Linked DNA regions of Homo sapiens: region 2 is linked to region 1. The links are contacts of gene promoters, found by promoter capture Hi-C in blood cells and fetal thymus (Javierre and others, 2016). All regions are on one chromosome and are shown on one strand. The core of a region is centred on a gene start or on the middle of the fragment in contact, and the rest is flanking DNA. Distances in the headings are between cores, read along the strand shown.

Region 1 (2,700 bases), core at 12-2,511:
AGTTGGGCACCCACTGGAGCGGAGTGGGCCACCCGCAGCACAGGGTAGGGCTGTCCGCCTTCTGGGGCCCCCCGGCGCCTGCGTTTTGGAGCAAATCTGCAGTCGAGGACCAGCTCCCGATAGTCACCCAACTCTGGCTCAGTGGCGCTAAGCCGTGCCAGGCGTGTGTGCAGGGCACTAGGATCATCTGTCACGCTGGCCGGCTGTACAGTCAGGAAGTATACGAAGGCTCCCGTGTGGAAGCTGTGCACGTATTCAATACTGTAGGAGACAAGATGCTTGGGCAGCACTGACAACGCCACAAAGCCCGGTGCGAATCCCGAGGCGTCAGCCTTGAGACGCCTGATAGACACTGAGCGTGGGCTGAAGCTGGCAGCCACGGCTGCGTCCAGTGAGGATGCCACGTAGAAATAGGAGGCCTGGCCTTGCTCAACCACAGTTACACGGGTGCCCAATGGGCTGGCCACACAGTCGGGGCAGTCATCGGGCCGGTTATGGTGGGCTGAGAAGAGGCAGGCTGGCGCTGCCAGATGCACGGCTGTCCCTTGGGGCTCTAGGTCATGCAGGAAGCAGCGGCCCTGCAGGCTGGAGCCACAACTGACCAGCGCAGGCAGCGCGGGATCCAGCACCAGCACCTTTGTGTCTGTGTCACCGGGAGGGCCGTGGGGTCCTGGGCCACAGGCTGCACACGTCTGGCAGCCAGGGTCTCCAGCAGGGCCCGTGGCCAGGCTCTGGACAGACTTCAGGTCAGGCCCAAGCACATGCAGGCGATTGCGTATGGCTACAAACACAGCACTCTCATTTCTGTCGCCCTCGTAGGTCACCATGGCCTGTACCAGGCCTCCGGCGGAGAAGCTGGGCACCACGTACTTCACGTCAAAGTCGCGAGAGGCCGCGTAGGGGGTGCGCGGGCACTGCCAGTCCTCGCCCGCCGCGGGCTTGGCAGGCAACAGCAGCAGCAACAGGAAGGACTGAGGCAGCGGCGGGAGGAGCTCCATCGAGGCGAGCTGGGACCCTAGAGGATCCCTACCGGCCTGGGCCTGGACCTGGGCGTGGGCCTGGCTGGGGGCCCGACTCGAGGTCTGGACTGGGCCAAATTTAAGCAGCGGTCCCGACAGCCCCAAGATAGCGGACCCCCGCCCCAGGTTCCTGTGAAACCCAAATCCCTTCCCGGCCCTCGGGTCTGAGCACCTGACGCCTGCGGACGCACGACAGCAACGCCCCAGCCGCCTCACCTGCCGCCCCAGCCGCCGCTGTACACTGGCGCTTAGCGCTCAGCCGACCCGAGGGCGCCGGGCTGGGCGGGCGGAGTCGGGCCGTGGGGGCGGGGCCGCGAGGAAGGCTTGGCCTAGCCCAGGCCCTCCGCCCATCCGACTCTTCCGGCCCTTGGAGGCCTGGCTCCTGTACCTTCACCTGGCGTCTTGGCGCCTTTTTCTCAGCGGCCTGTGGGTGGATGTGCATGGTGTGGCCTGGAGAGAGGTGAGCCAGTCTGAGCCGTCCCATCCCATCCCCCCACTACCGACTGGTTCGCAGCGAGAAGGGGGGCAGGACACTGGGCTCTTTGCTTGCGGTGGAACTAGTTTGCACTTAGTAGCAACACCCTCAGTGGCTGGTGCCCAGAGGTGGCCTGGGGGCCCACCATGTGGAGAACAGAGACCAGGATTGTGTGGAAGACCAGAGGGGAGATGTGGGGCACTTACAAGAGATGTTATGGGGCGCCACCCTTTGTGGGAAAGGACTGTCCTTTTTTTTTTTTGAGAAGGAGTCTTGCTCTGTGGCCCAAGCTGGATTGCAGTGGCGCGATCTCGGCTCACTGCAAACTCCGCCTCCCAGGTTCAAGCGATTCTCCAGCCTCAACCTCCTCCTGTCTCAACCTCCTGAATAGCTGGGATTACAGGCGCGCACCACCACACCCGGCTAATTTTGTATTTTTAGTAGAGACAGGATTCACAGTGTTGGCCAGGCTGGTCTCAAACTCCTGACCTCAGGTGATCCGCCCGCCTCAGCCTCCCAAACTGTTGGGATTACAGGCGTAAGCCACCGCGCCCGGCCGGGACCATTCTTCCATGTGCTTCTCCTGAGCTATCAGCGACAAGATGGTGTCAGAGGAAGGTGTGTTATGCCCTGCTCTCCCAGGGCCATAAGGGTCTTAGGATGGGATCTGGCCTTGCTGACTGGACCTCAGAGTCAGAGAGGCACGTAAGTGGAGGCCCATACCTCCTCTGCAGCCTCAGTATATGGAAGCTGTATAATGGGGTCCACAGTATGGGCCTTGGGGACTCCCCCTTCCTTCCTGGCTCTACCCAGTGCCCCCCTGATATGGAGGAATCATGGGCTTTGGCTCTCAGGACACTTCCAACATGCTCTGTAGGCCTTGCTGGATCTTATTCTCTTCAATGAGAATGTAGTTCTGGGCTGGGCACCGTGGCTCATGCCTGTAATCCTAGCACTCCTTTGAGGGGCCAAGGCAGGAGGATTGCTTGAGGTTAGGAGTTCAAGACCAGCCTGGGCAACATAACAAAACTCAACAAAACAAAAAAACTGCTAAAAATGTTTTTAAAATAAAATATGTGACCGGGCGTGGTGGCTCACGCCTGTAATCCCAGCACTTTGGGAGGCCGAGGCGGGTGGATCGCTTGAGGTCAGGAGTTCAAGACCAACATGGTGAACAGACAGATCTGGCCAACATGGTGAAACTAT
Region 2 (2,700 bases), core at 85-2,584, 200 kb before region 1:
TAGCTTTGAGCCCCTGGCTGGGAAGCCTCAGCTTGTAGCCGTTTTCTTGGTCTGGGGTCTTCCAGCCTCCAGGAGGCAGACACAAAGCTGGGAGACACAGAGGTCAGAGTTGGGGCCTGAGAAAAGGCCACCAGTCCCTCTCTCCAGCTTGTCCCACAGTCATCTGTTCCTGTGACAAGCCCTTATCGTGCACCTGCTGGGTACTGGAGCTGGTGGGCTTAACCACCACAGCTTTTTGTCAGGGAGCATGCCCTGGGGGTCAGACACATAGCAGCAACATGCCCCTGTGGTGGTGGGAGAGCTGTGGTAGGCACATCCAGGGATGGGCTCCTGGGGAAGGACTCTTGAGGGTGTGCAGAGTGCCCTTTGGCAAGCAGAGCCCTGCCTTGACACCCGCCAGCTTCGACGTGCTCCGCTCCGTCGTCTTCTTTTACATCAAGAGCCCCCTGCGTGTGGAGGAGGCCGGCCTGCAGGAGCTCATTCCCACCACCTGGTGGCCCCACTGCTCCAGTAGGGAGGTGAGTGCACCCCAAGTGGGATGGGCAGAGGTCATGGCAAGGCCCCTGGCCTGGGCATCTGGCCACTGGGCATCTAGCATGAGGCCTTTTCACTGGCCCTGGTCCCTGAAGCCCTGGAGATGGAGTGTGGGTGTTCTGAGTGAAGGAGGCCTGGCTAGGTCCCAGGTGACCCTGCTGTATTCCACCTGCTACCCCTGCCTAGGGCAAAGAGAGCACGGAGATGAAGGAGGAGACCGCAGAGGAGCGGCTGCGGCGGCGAGCCTACGAACGGGGCTGTCAGCGGCTCAGGAAGCGCATCGAAGGTCAGCCCGCCTTGGGCACGGGGTAGGGTGGGAGGTGTGTGTGTGCACATGAGGGTGCTTGGAGGTGCCCATGTCTAGGTGGGACTTGGGGAACCCTGGTGGTGGAGCCCTGGCCCAAACCTGCCCCCCATCTCCTGGAGCCTGAGGGCCATGTTCCTCACCTGACCTCCAGTGGTGGAAGAACTACAGGTCCAGATCCTGAAGCTGCTGCTGGACAATAAAGATGACAATGGGGTGAGTGACTCCCAGGAGCCCTGGGTGGGGCCCTGTGGGGAGGGATGCTGCACTGGGCCTTAAGACCCAGAGGGTGGGAACTGGGTTTGGTTCCCATGGCAGGGGCTGGGGGAAGGTGCAGCACTGAGCCAGCCCAGTCTGGGCCTGCATTCTCAGCTCAGCACAGCCTCACTTTTCCCTCTCTCAAAGGGTGAAGCTTCTAGGTATATCTTCCTGACCAAGTTTCGCAAGTTTCTGCAGGAGAACGCCAGTGGCCGGGGGGTAGGTGTCCTCCAGGCCAGCCCACTGTGGATCCCCGGCTGCACTACACATGCCATGCCCTCAGCACCTGGCACTTCTCGGACTGCCTCATCCCTGCCTAGCCCCAAGCTTTTCTCTGCTGCTTTTCCCTCCCTGCTTAACCCTCGACCCTCAGGCAGGGCCTTGGATGAGGAATGGGCAAGGCACTGGACTGGCACCAATGCATGTTTCATGCCTGGTGTCCACAGAACATGCCCATGCTCTGCCCCCCTGAGTACATGGTCTGCTTCTTACACCGGCTGATCTCTGCCCTGCGCTACTATTGGGATGAATACAAGGCTTCCAATCCTCATGCTTCCTTCAGTGAGGGTGAGTGGCACCGGGGTCCCAGGTCAGTGAGGCTGGACAGAGCCAGGCGTAGGGCAGCCCCTAATGTTAGTGCAGAGTGCTGAGCTGAGGCTGTGGGCTGTGGGGAGTTGTCCCCGGCATCCTGCCTGGTTGAGTCCTACCCAGCCACAGGCGGCTTCTCCACTGGGGCAGCAGGAGCCCTGCACCGCAGGCCTGCCGATCCTGTGTTTGCTCTGATTGTCCCACGGGCTCCTACCATTGTGGGCTCTTTTCTTCCGTCCTTGCCCCCCCATTTCTCTGTGCGTCCTTTATAGGGCTGCCTTGGGTGGGTGCTGGGGGGCCCTGTGTTTGAGTCCCCAAGGGTCAGTGGGAGCCTTACCTGCCCTGGATTGGGGGATATCCCACAGGACTGGGGCTGGGCCTCTCTGCTTCTCCTGAGTGAACGGCTGCCATGAGTACCCCCATCACCCCAAGTTATGCAGCTGCTGGCTCTGACCTGAAATGGCAGGGGTGGAGAAGAGGTAGGGGAGGTCTGTTTCTTGGTCCAGGAGACAGTTTCTCTGTCTGCCTGGATGGGTGAGTGGCCAAAGCCAGAATTCCCAGGCTGTGCTAGGCCAGATTGGAGGGGAGGGCTGTGGGGAGGGTCTTCCTACTGGGCCGTGACCACTGGCCTAGCCTCCTCAATTCCTCGCAGAGGCCTACATCCCGCCCCAGGTCTTCTATAATGGCAAGGTGGACTACTTTGACCTGCAGCGCCTGGGGGGCCTCCTCTCGCACCTGCGGAAGACCCTCAAAGGTGTGTACAGGCCTGTGGGCCGGGAGCAGTTCTGGGGCCAGGTGGGGGACTGTCCCTGAGCCTGCTCTGCTGTGGATGCTGAGCCATCCTATGGCCACCAGAGGGTGCCCAAGTCTTTCCACCCACTCAGGCAGGGAGACACTGATCTGCCTGCCCTACATCTGGGCAGCTTCTCTTTCCCGCCAGCACCCACGCCATAGGGGTCGGGCGTGCCTGGCAGGGGACCAGGGATCTTGGTGAGGTGTGGATGGGGCGTGCAGGT

The links. Contacts are between HindIII fragments. The CHiCAGO score rates a contact against its expected background, and 5 or more counts as called.
Region 2: a contact is called between a fragment that was not itself captured here and the fragment with the promoter of MST1R in region 1, in 3 of 17 cell types (endothelial precursors, megakaryocytes and erythroblasts). The highest score is 5.9, in endothelial precursors.

The regions. Positions count from the first base shown.
Region 1 is chr3:49,902,612-49,905,311 of GRCh38, forward strand. It overlaps MST1R (macrophage stimulating 1 receptor), which reads right to left and starts at 1,262. Exons shown (of 20, transcript NM_002447.4): 1 at 1-1,262. The coding sequence starts at 998. RefSeq lists enhancers at 1-286, 287-960, 1,597-1,646, 1,635-2,307 and a silencer at 1,187-1,406. The HindIII fragment of the contact is 26,972 bases long and covers 1-2,700 here.
Region 2 is chr3:49,701,091-49,703,790 of GRCh38, forward strand. RNF123 (ring finger protein 123) reads left to right here. Exons shown (of 39, transcript NM_022064.5): 16 at 401-518; 17 at 721-820; 18 at 993-1,054; 19 at 1,244-1,315; 20 at 1,543-1,663; 21 at 2,337-2,438. Among named protein-coding and RNA genes, the nearest start is that of RNF123, 13 kb to the left of the region's middle. RefSeq lists a silencer at 2,466-2,700. The HindIII fragment of the contact is 173 bases long and covers 1,249-1,421 here.